Linked DNA regions of Homo sapiens: regions 2, 3, 4, 5 and 6 are each linked to region 1. The links are contacts of gene promoters, found by promoter capture Hi-C in blood cells and fetal thymus (Javierre and others, 2016). All regions are on one chromosome and are shown on one strand. Each heading gives the region's core, a stretch centred on a gene start or on the middle of the fragment in contact. The rest is flanking DNA. Distances are from core to core; before and after follow the strand shown.

Region 1 (2,590 bases), core at 61-2,560:
TTGGACCAGGGAGCTCGGGCTCCCCTGGCAGAGCCCTGTAAGGCCAAGAGGGGATGGGATGAGGGGGTGCTGTACTGTCAGTTGTTTCCTGATGAGGGGAGAAGCTGTGGCCCGAAGTAGGTGGCAGGGAGGTGGGAGTGTGCAGCAGTCCTGGGCTCTGGCTCCAAAACCAGCAGGAAGGTGTGTGTGACCCCAGGCAAGCCACTCTCTTCTCCCTCCCAAACAACGAGACCTGCGCTAGGCTGGGTCTTCTGGCTTCAGGGGAAGGTGCCAGGTGACAAGTTCCCTGAGCGTAATCAGAGACTGGGGGAGAGAAAGGGGGGGAGGCCCCTCCCAGCCTCCCAGACGCCCCAGGGAGAGGTGGCGGCGAGTCTGTCGTTTGCCTGGGCACCCAAGGGACTCTGGAAGCCCGAGGGGAAAGGTGCGAGAGAAAACAGGTTTCAAAAATAGTCGGGACGCCAGGCTTGCCACCTGGACCCGGCTAGAGGAAGGGACGTAAGGGTCTAGATCGCCTGATGTGGGGCTCTCCCGAGGCACCCCAGGCGGGGCCTCGTTCCCAATTTCAAGTACGTACCTGCGACCCCGGGCTCACACCTGGATGGGTGTCTGGGCACCCGGAGTCAAAAGTTGGCCCGGTGGGTCGGGCAGGGGGCGGGAGAACGGGCCAGTGGGCTCCTGACCGCCGCAGCTGCTGGCTGGGGCGCAGGGGTGCGGGACGGGGGCGTCTTCCCAAGCCCCTGCGCCCTCTCCTCCTCCCCTAGGCACCGACGACGAGCGCCTGCCTCCCCCTAGCTGGCCAGGACAGCAGGGCGGGAGGTGCCGCGGGTGGCGGGGGCCTCTTCTCCCAACCTGCACCCCACCCCATGCCGGCTGCACCTGAGGACCCCGAGCTCGGGCTCCTTCCTCAGCGCTGCCCCTCCTCGCAGCGGCATCGAGCGGCCGGCGAGTAGGTGCACAACTTGACCCCGGCCGACCCCCTGCCCCGCAGGGCCGGGAAAGGGCCACGCCGGGACCGGAGCGCCGGTGAGGCCCCGCCTCTGCCCAACTTGGCCGCACTCCGGGCGCCCGCGGAGGCCCCGCGCGCCTCTGCCCGATCCCGGCCCGGCCCGGCTGACGCGCGCACACTCACTGCGGTGCCGGCCACCGCCCCCCCAGCTCTGCTTGGCCAAGCTGGGGCTCCGGATCAGCGCCCGCCCCGCCGACTTGAGCGCGTCCATGGCCCGCTCCGGCCGCCGCCGCCGCTGCCGCAGCCAAAACTCCGTCAGGAAAAACTTTCCGCCCGGCCCTGCGGCGCGCGGGCTGCGCGCTCCTCCCCTCCCAGCGCCAGCTCCGCCGCGGCGTCCGACGGGGCGGGGCGAGAGAGGACAGGCCCCGCCCCCAGACGGGCCGCGCCCCCGACGGCCGGTCTCGCCCCGCCCGGTCCCTGTCCAGGCTCCAGGTCCAGGCACCAAGAGTTTCCGAGGCCGCCCGAAGGCGCCAGAAGATAGCAAATCGCAAGCCCTAGACGCCCCCGCTTTCCTCCTTTTCCCCAATCCCCACCCCGTAGGGGCCTGAGGGCCTGAGAGCAGCGGCCTAGGATTTCCAGTGACCATTTTACAGATGGGGAGACTGAGGGCTCCTCCAGTGGTGAAAGATCTTGTTCAGGGACAAAAGCAATGCGATGTCCAGGGCAGTGGGAGACTTAGGAAATAGTGGAGGCTGTAAGCCAGGGATATCCAAACTTTTGGCTTCCTTAGGCCACATTGGAAGAAGAAGTGTCTTGGGCCACACATGAAATACACTAACACTAACGACAGCTGATGAGCTGAAATATATATATATACACACACACTCATGTTTTTTGTTTTTCTGTATTGTTTTTTTTCCCCTGAGACAGAGTTTCACTCTGTTGCCCAGGTTGGAGTGCAGTGGTGCGATCTCGGGTCACTGCAACCTCTACCTCCCGGGTTCAAGCTATTCTCATGCCTCAGCCTCCCGAGTAGCTGGGATTACAGGCATGCACCACCATGCCTGGCTAATTTTTGTATTATTAATAGAGATGGAGTTTTACCATGTTGGCCAGGCTGGTCTCGAACTCCTGACCTCAAGTGATCTGCCCGCCTCAGCCTCCCAAAGTGCTGGGATGGCTGTGAGCCACCACACCCTGCCCAAAAAAATCTCATAATGTTTTAAGAACCTTTACCAATTTGTGTTGGGCTCCATTCAAAGCCGTCCTGGACCTCACATGGCCAGTGGGCCACAGGTTGGACAAGCTTGCAGTATAGACCCTTGTTAGGCGCAGGGTCGGTATATAAAAATTTGCCTTTAGCAAGTCCAGCCAGGCACTTTACTCATCCTCGTAGCTCCCAGGCTGCTCCCTGGCACCACCTGAGCATGCTGGGCCACCCCATGCCCCCGCAACTTCCCAGGTAGCCTCACAGATGGTATGATCTGGAACGTGCCCCTGACACTGACTTGCTGTGTGACCTCAGGCAAGTACTTCCCCTCTCTGAGTCTTGTTTATCTGTGAATGAGAGTCAATGCTATCTCTAGTGATCCTTCCAACCTGCCAGGGTCAAGAATCTGCATGACCTTGACCCTGACCCCAAGC
Region 2 (2,590 bases), core at 31-2,530, 250 kb before region 1:
AGAGCCACAGACAGGATTTGCGGATGGGTCAGAAGTGGACGGCAAGAGGAAAGACCAGCATCAGCCATGGGTTGAGCTTGGGTAGCTGGTGGCACCATCCTGAGATGAGGCACCCTGGAGGGACCCCGGCTGGGGAGAAGGCTTGGTCCAGTCTGCCAGGTTAAGATGCCTGAGAGCTGGCTGGGCGTGGTGGCTCACGCCTATAATCCCAGCACTTTGGGATGCTGGGGTGGGCGGATCATGAGGTCAGGAGGTCGAGACCATCCTGGCCAACATGGTGAAACCCCATCTTTACTAAAAATACAAAAAATTAGCTGGGCGTGGTGGCGCACGCCTGTAGTCCCAGCTACTCGGGAGGCTGAGGCAGGAGAATCGCTTGAACCTGGAAGGCTGAGGTTGCAGTGAGCCAAGATCACACCACTGCACTCCAGCCTGGTGATAGAGGGAGACTCCAGCTCAAAAAAAAAAAAAAAGATGCCTGAGAGTCACCCTCACGGAGGTGTCAAGGAGGCAGTTGTGTGTGTATGACTATGGGGCTATGAACGGTAGGGAAGGGGGGCGTGGATTATAAATCTGGGAGTTGCCAGTCTAAAAATGGCACTTAAAGCCACAAGATTCAATGAGATCATTGAAGAGAGAGAAGAGAAGCCGCCTTTGGCCTATGTGGCCACAGATGCCGCCGTGTCTTGGAATGTTGAGTGGCTTTGGCTGGATTTACAGGCATGGAGCTGTGGCTGTGATTAGCCAAAAAATAGATTAACGTTAGAGGTCATGACAGGCTTGGCTTGGCTCTCGTACTGTCCAGGCTGGGAGAGAGATTTGTTTCCCGGGGTCAGTAAATGCCCCCGGGACTTTGCCAGATGGACAGATTTAGTCTCAGCATCACGAGTGCAGAGGTCCTGGTTACCCAGCCTGGCTGCCCACTAGTCACCTGGGGCCTTTGAAGGAGACCAATGCTTGGGGCCAACCCCCAGTTGGTTGGGGGAAAGAGGGACATTTTTACCAGCTCTCCAGTGATTTTGAGGGAGAAAATGTAAAGACGGCCAAGTTCCACACACAAGCCACAAAAAAGAGTTTGACATTCGGGGCCTTTCCAACGGTGAGTGTCAGGCACAGGCAGATGGTACCGGATGATCTGGCCTGAATTCTGTTCCACTTGTCTTGTGTGTTTTGAACTGGGTCCAGGGCCAAGGAGGGAACCGTGCTGGGGGGTCAGCCACCCTGGTCTGCTCAGGACTGACACTGATGGAGCACCGAGGATGTGGGATATTCGGTCCTACAAGCAAGAAAGCCCTAACTGGGATGAGCTAGTCACCCAAACAAGGGAGAGGCATAGCTCAGCTTGCATCTGAGAGGCTTTATTTCATCATCTCTGATCTTGGTTGTGCACTTCAGAGGTTTTTTTTTTTTTTACCACAAATGGGTACAAGAGGGCTTCATAATGACCAGACAAGAAAGTGTGAGCATCCTTATTAGACAGGAGCTAAGTGGTTATAAGTTGTATCATATAAATTAAGACAGAAAATGCAGAGGATTTTTTTTTTTTTTTGAGACAAGGTCTCACTGTCACCCTGGCTGGAGTACAGTGGTGCAACTTCAGCTCACTGCAATCTCTGCCTCCCAGGCTCAACTGATCCTCTTACCTCTGCCTCCTGGGCTCAAGAGAGCCTCCCACCTCAGCCTCCCGAGTAGCTGGGATTACAGGCGCCTGCCACCACACCCGGCTAATTTTTGTATGTTTAGTAGAGATGGGGTTTCACCATGTTGGCCAGGCTGGTCTCTAACTCCTGACCTCAGGTGATCCGCCCACCTCGGCCTCCGAAAGTGCTGGGATTATGGTTGTGAGCCACTATACCCAGCCTATTTTATTTTGAGATGGGGTCTCACTCTGTTGCCCTGGCTGCAGTGCTATGGCATGATCATAGCTCACTGCAGCCTTGAACTCCTGGCCTCAAGCCAGCCTCCCGCCTTGACCTCCCAAAGTGCTGGGATTACAGGTGTGAGCCACTATACCCAGCCTCAGTGGAATGTTTATAATGCAAAAAACCATGAAAAGAATGAAATGTCTGTGCCTGAAATTAGGTGATGGTGAAAGAGGTCCACATAGGGTTTGCTCTGGGGATGGCAGGTATTGACTAGAAGCAGCACATGCAAGCCTTCTGGGTGCTGGAATAGTCTTGATCTTGACTGGGGAGGTGGTCATATGAGCGTGCATATAGGTCAACATTCCTTGAGCTGGTCATTTAAGAATAGTGCGTTTTAGGCTGGGTGCAATGGCTCACGCCTGTAATCCCGACACTTTGGGAGGCTGAGGCGGGTGGATCACCTGAGGTCAGGAGTTCAAGAACAACCTGGCTAACATGGTGAAACCCCGTTTCTACCAAAAATACAAAAATTAGCCGGGTGTGGTCCTGTAGTCCCAGCTACTCGGGAGGCTGAAGCATGAGAATCGCTTAAACCTGGGAGGCGGAATTTGCAGTGAGCTGAGATTGCGCCATTGCACGCCAGCCTGGGCGACAGAGTGACATCGTGTCTCAAAAAAAAAAAAAAAAAAAAAAGAATAGTGCATTTTACACATTACTGTATCTAC
Region 3 (2,590 bases), core at 61-2,560, 220 kb before region 1:
GAGTGTGGGTGTGTGGGTCTGTGTGTATGGTGGAGTGTGTAATGTGTGTGTGTCTGGGAGGGTGGGTGGGGTGGTAGGGGTGTGTGTGTGTGTGTGTGGAGTGTGGACGTATGTGAGGGTAGTGGTGTGTGGGTCTGTGTGTGGGGGGAGTGTGTGAGGGGAGTGTGGGTGTGTGAGGGGAGAGTAGGAGTGTATGTAGTGTGTAATGTGTGTGTGTGAGGGGAGTGTGGATGTGAGGGGAGTGTGGGTGTGTGTGTATGGGGGAGTGTGTAATGTGTGTGTGTCTGGGAGGGTGGGTGGGGTGGTAGGGGTGTGTGTGTGTGTGTACGAGTGTGGTCTTCCCCAACACTGCGAGGCGGGCTGGGAGAAGCACAGGCATAGGAATGAGAAGACATTGTTCTGCATTAGCTCAGGGTGCACCCCTGCCCACTCTGGGCCTTGGTCTCCCCATCTGCAGATGTGTGAAGGGGGCACGAGCTGGTGTCCGTGAGCCCCAGAGCAGAGGCAGGCTCTGCTGCTTCCTGACCGTGCCAATGCGCTCGTCACACCTGGCAGCAGGAGGCTGGGCCACAAGCCTGGAAATCAGCCGATCTGATGCCAGGGAAGCTGCCAGGCTGCAGCTCACACTCCTGTACCTACCAAGGAGGTCTGGACTTGCCACTTCCCTCCCACAGAAGAAAGTGTGGGATTCAGGCAGTGGACAAGTTACTCAGGTGCCGCACCGAGGGGCTGGTGACCCCTCCTCGGCAGCTCTCAGGGGGTTGGCCTCAGGGTGGTCTCATTTGTGTTGGGCACCATCGGGAGCCTGGTGGATTTATCCTGGATGTGAACTCTTAGCAATAGGACGGGTCTTGGGGCTCCCCTGTTACCCCTGAAGCTCGGTTTCCAGGAGGAGTGGGAAGCCAACAAGAGCAGAGGCCTAGGTAACTGAGATGCAGTCCTAACTCCTCCTTCGTTTCTCTAGGCTGCAATTTCTGTGGTTGCAAATGGGCTACGCAGAACCTGCCTGTCCTGCCTTCAGGCTTGTTCTGAAGATTCAAGAAGAGAAAATGATGTGCGTGCACTTAAGCTTATGCAAGGTGGTAATGCTATCAAGTGCTAAAAGAATACGTATGCACCAAAAAAAAAACCAACAAAAAACCACAGGAAACCTGAGATGACCCCGGGCACCAAGGCCAGGGGAGGAGGAAGGCAGACGTTTGGGCGAGCTGGGCATTATAACCCCCTCTGCTCTTTAGCAGGCCGAGGGCTCAGATTTTATTAATAGGAAACAATTTCCCATATGCGACTGACTTTGCCCAGACCTGCAGGCCCTGACTCTGCCTGAGAAGAAAATTATGCTTCCCGGCAGGGGCTCCCTTATAATTTGCCAAGGTAACTGTTGAGCTAGGAAGCCCACACCCCTTTCAGCCCTTTTCATGGGTTCTGCTGCCTTGCCCTGGAGCAGCTCAGAGGGGTTTATCTCCTTATCCAGTCAGGTCTCGCAATTAAAACCAGCAACTGTTATCGAACTGCCTCTTCCCGTGGCTATAATCTGCAATTCAAGCTTCATTTTCTCCCCGTACTTTTGGATTCGGCAGTGTGTTTTGGTTAAAAATACTCTGCATTTCTCTAAGTGGTTTTTACGGGAGGCCACTTGGGGTGAGGTCGTCCCTGGGGGAAATTCCTGGGTTGAGTTTTCTGGGGGAGGTTCAGGTTGGAAGGAAAGGCCTCAGCTGCTTCGCCACAGTGTCCCCAATGCTGCCTCTCTAGGCCCCACTTGCATTGTTCCCTTTTGGGACAACTTGGACCATCTTTGGCAGATGGAAGTGAAATCTGTTTCCTGCAGCCTTTGACCATTCTTCCTACGCCCCTCCATGGCACACAAAGAATGCATCTCATTCTCTTCTTTCATTTTGCAGGACAGGAAACCAAGGTTCAAAGAGATACAGTGAATTCCCCCCTAAGCCACACAGTCATTAGACTCATACCCACTTTGCCCCTGAGCCCTTGCTGATGTCACAAAAACTGGGTTGGAGGCAGGGGAAAGGGAAGGGGGTCCTTGTTTGCACACAGACAGTGGGGGTGGGGGCTCTGCCAGGTCTTGGGAGGCCCTAGAGGCAGTGCCCACGGAACCTGTCACTGCCAGTTCCAGCTGACCATGACCATGTGACCAGGGCCTGCCTCTGCTTCCCAGAGCTGGGCTTCTCAACAGGCATGCACATTCCAGAGGCCTGGGGGACTTGTCCACACTCTCACACCTAAGCGACCCCAAACCCCATTCTGTTGCAATGGGTAGGGCTGGGGGCTTGTGAATGATGTTCCATGGGTGACTGGCTGTTATCTGGCTGAGAAACAAGTCTCTGAACAGAGACCTTCTGAAAACTCTGGGACTGATTCTTGTAGGTCTAAGATGTATAGATGAATTCATGACGTCTTTTGTTTTTTTTTGGGACGGAGTCTTGCTCTGTCGCCCAGGTTGAAGTGCAGTGGTGCGGTCTTGGCTCACTGCAACCTCCGCCTCCCGGGTTCAAGCGATTCTCCTGCCTCAGCCTCCTGAGTAGCTGGGACTAGAGACACGTGCCACCACACCCAGCTACTTTTTGTATTT
Region 4 (2,590 bases), core at 63-2,562, 200 kb before region 1:
GATCCACCCATCTGTCCTCAGCGTTGCAGCCAGAGAGATTTTTTAAAAAATTCAAGTCAGCCGGGCGCGGTGGCTCACGCCTGTAATCCCAGCACTTTGGGAGGCCAAGGCGGGTGGATCACGAGGTCAGGAGATCGAGACCATCCTGGCTAACACAGTGAAACCCCGTCTCTACTAAAAATACAAAAAATTAGCCGGGCATGGTGGCGGGCGCCTATAGTCCCAGCTGCTTGGGAGGCTGAGACAGGAGAATGGCATGAACTCGGGAGGCGGAGCTTGCAGTGAGCCGAGATAGCGCCACTGCACTTCAACCTGGGTGACAGAGCGAGACTCCGTCACAACAACAACGACAACAACAACAACAACAACAACAAAAATTCAAGTCATATCATGCCACTCCTCTGCTCGAAACCCCCCATGGCTCCCATCTGACTGAGAGTTGAAAGCCTTAGTCCTTCCCGTCCCTGGGGCCCTGTGATCTGTCCTGGTTCCCTCACTGCCTCTCCTCCTCCACTTTGGCTGCACGCTGTCCCTTCAGCCTCCACTTCGGCCTCCAAACCTGCTCCTTGCCTAGGCCCTGGTAGCTGCGGGCTACTCTGCTGAAACTGTTCATGCCACTCACTGTCTCCTTGTCTTCTCTGGTTTTCCCCAGCCTTCATCACCAGGGGCATCACGCACGGATCTGCTTTCCCAGCCACTCTGTCTTCTCCTGAGGGGTTGGCTCCTAGGGAGAGAACTCGGTTCACCGCCACCTTCCACTGCCCAGAACACTTTCCAGCCCCCACGGGGGCCCGTAAGTATTTAGGAATGAAAGAAAGGCCCCCTCCAACTGGATGGGGAGGGCTTCAAGGGGGGCTGTGGCGCATTCACAACTCCCAGTGCCTGGCTACAGTCTGACCCTAGGAGGCATTAAAGGTAAGGGGTTCGGCTGAACAAAACGAGCCCACAGCATGGGCGTCTGTGGTGACTACGTCCAGAGCAGGGTTAAGTGTCTACTCCAGGGGCTGCCACCACTAGACAAAGACCCTCCCACCAGGCTGCCCAGAGTGACAACATGTGCCCAAAGCCTCGCCCTGCACAAAGCTTTCTGTGAAGAGCGTGTCAATCTCTACAAGGAAATGAACCTCCAGCTCCCAGAACCTCCTCCCCAGGAGCTGCTGAGCCAGGAACCAGCCTGCCTCCCTGGATCACGGTCTGTATCCCACCCTGCTGACTCTGCCATATTAATGATGATGATGTTTTTATGTGATATCATATTAGCAAAGAGAAATGGTCAGGCTGGCAACACAAACTCCAGGAAGAACATTTAGAAGAAAAAAAATCACCCAAGGCATAGCCTATTCCCACAATATCCCCAGAGCCACATACTAATGGCTGCATTTAATTTAATGAGACAATGCACAGACTTTTCTTAATCTGTAAAGAAACAACACACACGTTTTTCTCAGCATCCACAGAAACCCATGTGGCTGTGTGGCAGACCATCTTTTCAAAGGCAGCTGCTGTGGTGTATCTTATCCCACAAGAAGAACGAAGCTTTTCTTGTGACACTGACACACCTCCCATGGCTCCTCCCCTTGAACCTGGGCAGACCATTGTGATCATCTGGACCAACGGAATGAAGCAGAAAGGATGAGGTGCTATTTTCTTTATTTTTTTGAGACAGGGTCTCTTGCTCTGTCATCCAGGCTGGAGTGCAGTGGTGTGATCATAGCTTACTGCATCCTTGAACTCCCGAGAAGCAGGGGCTACAGGAGTGCACCACCATGCCTGGATAACTTTTAAAATTTTTTTGTAGAGATGGGGGTCTCACTATGTTGTCCAGGCTGGTCTTGAACTCCTGGCCTCAAGCGATCCTCCCATCTCAGTCTCCCAAAGCACTGGGATTACAGGTGTGAGCCACTGTGCCTGGCTTGACCTTAAGGCCCAGACCTTAAGAAACTGGCAGCTTCCACTTCCTGCCTCTCAGAATGTTGGATCTTGGAACCAGCCACCATACTGTAAGGAAGCCCAAGATAGCTAGCTCTCAAGGAGAAAACATGTAGAGAGCCATGTATCAGTTTTCTGACTGACAGTCCCATCTGAGGTTCTAGCCAACAGCCAGCATCAATTGCAACGCATGACTCAAAAAGCTTCCAGATAATACTACCACCCAGCTGTCGAGTCAGCCTCAGCCTTCAAGCCTTCCCAGCTGAGGGTCTATACATGACTGCACAGAGACAAGCTGTCCCCTGTTGTGCCCTTTCTGAATTACTGACCCACTCAATCTGTGAGCATAATAAAATAATTGTTTTAAGCCCCCAAGTTTTGGAGTAATTTGCAATGTAGCAATAGCAACTGGAATGTTTTTGCCACATGGGTTTTTTAGGAAGATGAATTAAAGTGACATCCCCATTACCCAAAGTTTATTGTTTAAAACCAGATCGTCTAATATGATGAGGTCTTCTGGCGGCATAAAACCCATTTACGGACTGGGACCTCTCCATTTCTATCTGGTCTGTTTCTCGTGTGTCGTGTTTTAATTTTTTTTCCTTGAGCAGGAATATTTTCCTTGAATTTTCCCATGATAGCTATTTCCTGGGTGACATAG
Region 5 (2,590 bases), core at 53-2,552, 170 kb before region 1:
GCTAGCATCCTTAGTGCCTCAGGCTCTCCTGAAACCACCATCGTTCTTCTGCTCTATACTGCTCAAGGGAGAGGCCCTGGCTTTCCTCATCTTTCTGTTTCCAGGGCTTGGCACATAGTAGGTGCTCAGTAAAGACATCTAGTCAGCTGAAAGACCATGGCATGGTTCAAGCCCTGGCACAAGACCAGCTAGATGCTCTCTGAGGGCAGAGCCTGGACCTTTCTGTTCACCACAGTAACTTTCACACCTAGGTCCACAAAGTCTGTTGTGAGTGCTTAGGTATTCGTTGAGAGAAGGAGTGAAAGGCTGATGTGGCAGAAATCTAGGGTTTCACAGCCCAGCATCCACCTATACTTTCTCTAGTTGACGGGTCCCTGAATCACCTTCTACACCTCCCCTCCTTCCCAACTCCTAGTCCATGTTCTGCTTGAGGTAGAACTGCCTTGACCCCAGCAATGGGAATGATCATGTGACCTAGGCCTTGGTCAGTCCAGCCCTTTCATCCCTCTGGACATGAGGATGAGTTAGGGATAGGCAGAGCCATGGGCCCAATTAAAGCTCACCAGCACTAATTTTGGGCTTAAACTGAAACAGAGTGGCACTAGCTCTTCTGCACCAGACACAGGTTGGGCAGGCTAAAGTTGTTGTACCAGCTTGTTCACATCAAGGAAGAACAACCTGAGAATGAAGACAGTGAAAACAGGCCACAGGGAAGAGAAATAAACAGAGTGTCCGTCTTCATTTGAGACGTGGATCAAGCTGTGCCTGAAGTCTAATCCTAGTGACTTTCAATCAAGTGATCTAGTAAATTGAACTTAAATGGGCTTGAGTTTTTTTGCATCTTGCAAACTGGAGAGTGCAGACTAACATAGTTGACCTTGAGGGTCAATGTCACCCTTAAAATATGTCATCTTAGGTGTAGTGCTAGCACTTAATACAGGTGGGAGCCAGGGTACCACCAGCTTGTGGCATTAACTCCACTTCCTTTAGAGTGTAGCTGACTCTGAGAGCTCGAACAAAGCTTCATTGATTCTACCTGGTATGTGACATTGTAAACCAATCTCACATTATCAGCATTGCAAAAATTCCCCTATAAAAACACAGGAGTCTAAAATGTTAATCTGAGAATTAGTGGACATTTATCTTCTTTTGGATCGGTATAATTTCCTCCCATTTTTTTTTATCTGCTTTCTGAGCCACCTCATTTATCTAAGCTTTCAAAAGCTCATGCAGAACACATAATGCACTTCAGCTACAAAAATCAATGCTTGAGGATGCATTTTTACCAGGGTTGGTAAAGAAATTCTTCTACTGCTTCTCAGAGGCCTTACTGCAAACATTTTTATTCATGAATAAGAGCCAGAATAGTTTTACTTATAAACAAAGCTTTTCCCTAATTATCAAATCAAGGAGTCAATGTCACTTAGAAATATATTCTTTTTTATTTTTGAAGGGATAAAAGTGTGTATTAGTTTGTGCTTCAAACCCCTCTCCTCCCCTAACCATCCAAGACAACTGACTGACTTTAATTAAAGACCATTTACCCTGGGAATGGATTGCTTGCTGCAATTTGTACCGAAGAGACACATTTGCAGACAAATGAATCGCAGTCCTCAGATTTCGCCCATATGACAAAAGAAGTGATTATGTTCCCTCATCACTTCCTCACTCTGAAGAACTCTATTAAGAGAATAATTTGAACTGACTCTCTGCTACGCTGCATTTTAAAGTGTGATCTATTTCAAAGCCACCAACATTTTTTTCCCCTTTTAAAAATGAGTGGTATTTAAGGAAAAATGCCAGCTGGTGTGTCTATTTGAGGAGGGGCTACAGGAAACACGAAGGTTGATTTAACTCCCTCGGAAGCTCCAGTCACTTGCAAGTGCATGAGGAACCTGGAGCCTTGGTTCCCGGCAGCAAAGAGCAGACACTGGGCCCAGCGAAGTCCAAACTCTGGTGCTGTGTTAAACTGAGCCCAAGGAATGCCTTCTCCATGGCCCTCTGATCACCTGTGCAGGCTGCATTATAACGATTTATGTGTCTGTGTACCCTAGTCTGAACAGAGGCCGGAGATGAGGCACATCCATGGGCCTCTTTTCAGACCTCATATGAATCAGGAAGGCTTAGGGCCCAACAGTCCTATATAAACTCCATGTCTCGGGTTAGACAGCAGCATCCAAACACCTCTAGCAAAATAGTTCCAGCCTCCAGAGAGCTGCTTTCAAGAGCCTGTGCCTAGATTGTGCACTGTCGTGTCCTGCTTATCTGTTTCACCCACTAGACTGGACCCTAATAAACTCTTTCTAGAAAGTAGGTCTCTGCCTGCTGCTGTGGAGACTCAAAACCTGCGTATGAATTTTGCTTTGCCATTTGGTATGCTTATGCTGGGCAAATCACTCAGCTTACCTGGGTCTGTTTCCTCATCTATAAAGTGGGTATGGCACCATCTCACCTGACTGTGATGAGGGTGCAATGTGGTAACACAAAAGCACCCAACACATCCCTCCATCTCCTTGTTCCCCACCCCCACCTCATTATGAGAGGACATGACATATAGTAGAAAGAGCACTGGACTGAGAGGCAGGCAGGA
Region 6 (2,590 bases), core at 38-2,537, 150 kb before region 1:
ACCTGAGAGAACCTTTTAGGGTGATGGAAATGCTTTTAATCTTGACCTGCATGGCAGTTACACAGAGGTAACTATATGTAAAATCCATTAGACTGTGCACTTAAGATTTGTGCAATTTAATGTAGACATGTTATAAGTTATACCCCAATTTTTAAAAAGTAATTTTAAAACAAAAAAAAAATAGAGGCTCAAGTTAGAAGACCAGGGTTCGATCCTGGCTGTCTGACCTCAGGTAGTCCCGGCCCTCTCAGGACCTGCCTCCCGGTCCTCAGACACTGGACCACAGGCTACAAAGGATCCAAGTGGCCTGGTAGTCTGAGATTCTGGGAATGCACATACCTATTTGTCACAGGGTTTGCTGGGAAACTTGGCAAGTGCTGCCATCAATGCGGTGAGAAGAAAAGGAGGCTCTTGCTGTAGGCTCAGCCTTGTTTCTAAGGAAGGAAAGGTCTTCGCAAAGTGGGCGGAACACGCTGCCACCAGGAGAGAATGTCAATTTCAATATGAATCATCTCCTACATCCCCAGCAACTTGCTCTGGGAATAGACACCCTGACTCACTCCTCTCCTGACAGGAACAAGACTTGTTGCTGAAATCTCAGATTCCAAGAAGACCAGCCCAATACCCCCTTCGAAATGAAAAAGAAAGAAAGACAGAAAGAAATCAACCTAGTAACCAACCAGCAGTCACAGAACCCTGGGCAGAGACAAAGCAAACCCCTTTGTACTGATGAAGAGACGAGGCCCAGAGGAGGCCGGCTCACTCGGCTGCTGGCGCCAGAGCGGGGACACGAACCCAAGGCTCCTAACCTCCAATTTTCTTTTGACAACAACTTGCTACTATATTTTCTAGAGAAATAAATTATGCTCTGTGCTAGTGGAAAGCCTTTTAAAGAACAAGAAAATGGCCAAGATGCATCTTAATTAGAAACTGCTTGGCAAAAACTCTTTGAAGAAGGAAAGCGCAGAGTGTGGAGCGGTGAGTGGTCGGTCGGCGGTGTGAGTGCACGACACTGCAGCAAGCTAATTTCGAGGCGTGCTTTGCTCTGATGATCACCCCTTGGGCCCCAGGAATGTTCTGATCATCAGAAGGTGGCCGAGGAATTGTGCACATGTCACTCAAGGCCACAAGGAGACCACCATGGGGCCGTAGCATCTGTCTAACAGCAGGTTCTCTTATCTTCCTTGGGCTAAGGGCCTGGCTATCAGTGACCAGTGCTCCTAAGCCATTTCCTCCGACTTTTATATCCTCTGGCCTCCGGATGGCGCTTTCAGGGCTCTCAAAGCATGTGACTACCAGGAAGGTTTGCTTGCTGCCCTTAAGCCTGACCCATTCTATCCAAGGAATTGCAACATCACCACTTACAAAGCTGATGACAGCTTTTTCTCAAAACAAACTCAAAGCCTGGGTCAGGAATGTGCACCGCGGCCTGCCAGAATCAGTGAGCAACATAGCCCAACACTGAGTTTCCAGGAGCTATGGATTTTTTTTCTCCAGAAAAAAACCTCCAAAAACCAAAACTCATCAAGTAGTTATGGTATTTTCAGCCAGATAAGTCAAATGTATACACCGGGAAGGGTGTGTATACCTGCAGGGAAGAAAAAAAATGTAATGTTTGGTGAAGGCTTACTATGTGCTAACCCCCCATTTCACAGGTGAGTAGACTGAGGTTCAGAGAAGTTTGTGACTTGCCCAATTTCACTCAGCTGGTAAGTGCTAGGGATGGGATTTAAACCCAGGCATATCTCTGAAGTCAAAGCTGCTACCTCCCAGAAACATACGTGGAGATCCACGTACTAGGGAAGCAGCTGGTTTTCACAAACTATCTATCTGGCAACATCTGCAGTTCCCAAGGCAGCCACACTGGTGGAGTAACTCTCACCCCGACAAAAAGACCCACCAAGGCTGGTGTGTGTGTGTGGAGGGGGAGAGTATGAACAGTTTGCAGAAGGCACTACTAAGTCACACGCCAAAAAGCAATTGTAAAAATGACATCTTGGGGCCTGGATTTATTCCCTCTTCAACATCATATTTGCTCCGTTTACAAGGCAAAGATGATTTTTCTCTCTGCCAAGGCTGAACATTCCCAGCCTGTGATCTGAAAATCATGCTGTGTTCATTTTGCCTCTTAACTCACCCAAGGCCATAAATCATCCCTCAAAATGGGGATTTGGCTGGCAGTTCTATTGGGGATTTGCGAGGCAGAGGCGGAATCCAATTTGGGGCTCCTCATGGTCATCCTGGGGCTGGCTCAGAGCAGGGAGATGTTACTTTTGGCCACACAAGCACAGAGAAGAGGCCTGAACATCAGATCTGCTGACTAAGCAGAACTGCTACTTTTTACAGGGTCTGTCTGCTGATTCGGAGTGTACTCTGTGACGAGAGGTCAAGGCAGCTGCAGGGGATGAGAGGAATAGAGAACACAGCAAGACCCAGCCCTTACCCAGCCAAACCCAGGCCGAAGGACATGAGGGAAAATAGGGCACTCAGAGACTGCACTAGGCAATTTATTTATTCTACAAAATGTACTGAAAGCCTACTCTGCACCAGGCACTGTTTCTTTCCTTGGACTATACTTATTCTCATTATT

Evidence for each region. Contacts are between HindIII fragments. The CHiCAGO score rates a contact against its expected background, and 5 or more counts as called.
Region 2: a fragment that was not itself captured here is called in contact with the fragment with the promoter of LDLRAP1 in region 1 in 6 of 17 cell types (naive CD4 T cells, naive CD8 T cells, total CD8 T cells and 3 more); the score reaches 8.9 in naive CD4 T cells.
Region 3: a contact is called between a fragment that was not itself captured here and the fragment with the promoter of LDLRAP1 in region 1, in 4 of 17 cell types (megakaryocytes, naive CD4 T cells, non-activated CD4 T cells and 1 more). The highest score is 6.9, in megakaryocytes.
Region 4: a contact is called between a fragment that was not itself captured here and the fragment with the promoter of LDLRAP1 in region 1, in 1 of 17 cell types (naive CD4 T cells). The highest score is 7.2, in naive CD4 T cells.
Region 5: a contact is called between a fragment that was not itself captured here and the fragment with the promoter of LDLRAP1 in region 1, in 1 of 17 cell types (naive CD4 T cells). The highest score is 6.1, in naive CD4 T cells.
Region 6: a contact is called between a fragment that was not itself captured here and the fragment with the promoter of LDLRAP1 in region 1, in 3 of 17 cell types (naive CD4 T cells, total CD4 T cells and non-activated CD4 T cells). The highest score is 7.7, in naive CD4 T cells.

Annotation. Positions count from the first base shown.
Region 1 is chr1:25,542,326-25,544,915 of GRCh38, reverse strand. LDLRAP1 (low density lipoprotein receptor adaptor protein 1) reads right to left here and starts at 1,310. Exons shown (of 9, transcript NM_015627.3): 1 at 1,130-1,310. The coding sequence starts at 1,217. RefSeq lists silencers at 811-990, 1,021-1,480 and an enhancer at 1,581-1,640. The HindIII fragment of the contact is 5,608 bases long and covers 1-2,254 here.
Region 2 is chr1:25,792,541-25,795,130 of GRCh38, reverse strand. No RefSeq gene overlaps it. Among named protein-coding and RNA genes, the nearest start is that of SELENON, 6.4 kb to the left of the region's middle. The HindIII fragment of the contact is 4,966 bases long and covers 1-2,590 here.
Region 3 is chr1:25,764,888-25,767,477 of GRCh38, reverse strand. All of the region lies in intron 7 of MAN1C1 (mannosidase alpha class 1C member 1), which reads right to left. Among named protein-coding and RNA genes, the nearest start is that of SELENON, 34 kb to the left of the region's middle. The HindIII fragment of the contact is 477 bases long and covers 1,072-1,548 here.
Region 4 is chr1:25,738,204-25,740,793 of GRCh38, reverse strand. All of the region lies in intron 2 of MAN1C1 (mannosidase alpha class 1C member 1), which reads right to left. Among named protein-coding and RNA genes, the nearest start is that of SELENON, 61 kb to the left of the region's middle. The HindIII fragment of the contact is 453 bases long and covers 1,086-1,538 here.
Region 5 is chr1:25,713,179-25,715,768 of GRCh38, reverse strand. All of the region lies in intron 2 of MAN1C1 (mannosidase alpha class 1C member 1), which reads right to left. Among named protein-coding and RNA genes, the nearest start is that of SELENON, 86 kb to the left of the region's middle. The HindIII fragment of the contact is 172 bases long and covers 1,217-1,388 here.
Region 6 is chr1:25,694,001-25,696,590 of GRCh38, reverse strand. All of the region lies in intron 2 of MAN1C1 (mannosidase alpha class 1C member 1), which reads right to left. Among named protein-coding and RNA genes, the nearest start is that of MAN1C1, 79 kb to the right of the region's middle. RefSeq lists a silencer at 359-653 and an enhancer at 382-881. The HindIII fragment of the contact is 4,437 bases long and covers 1-2,590 here.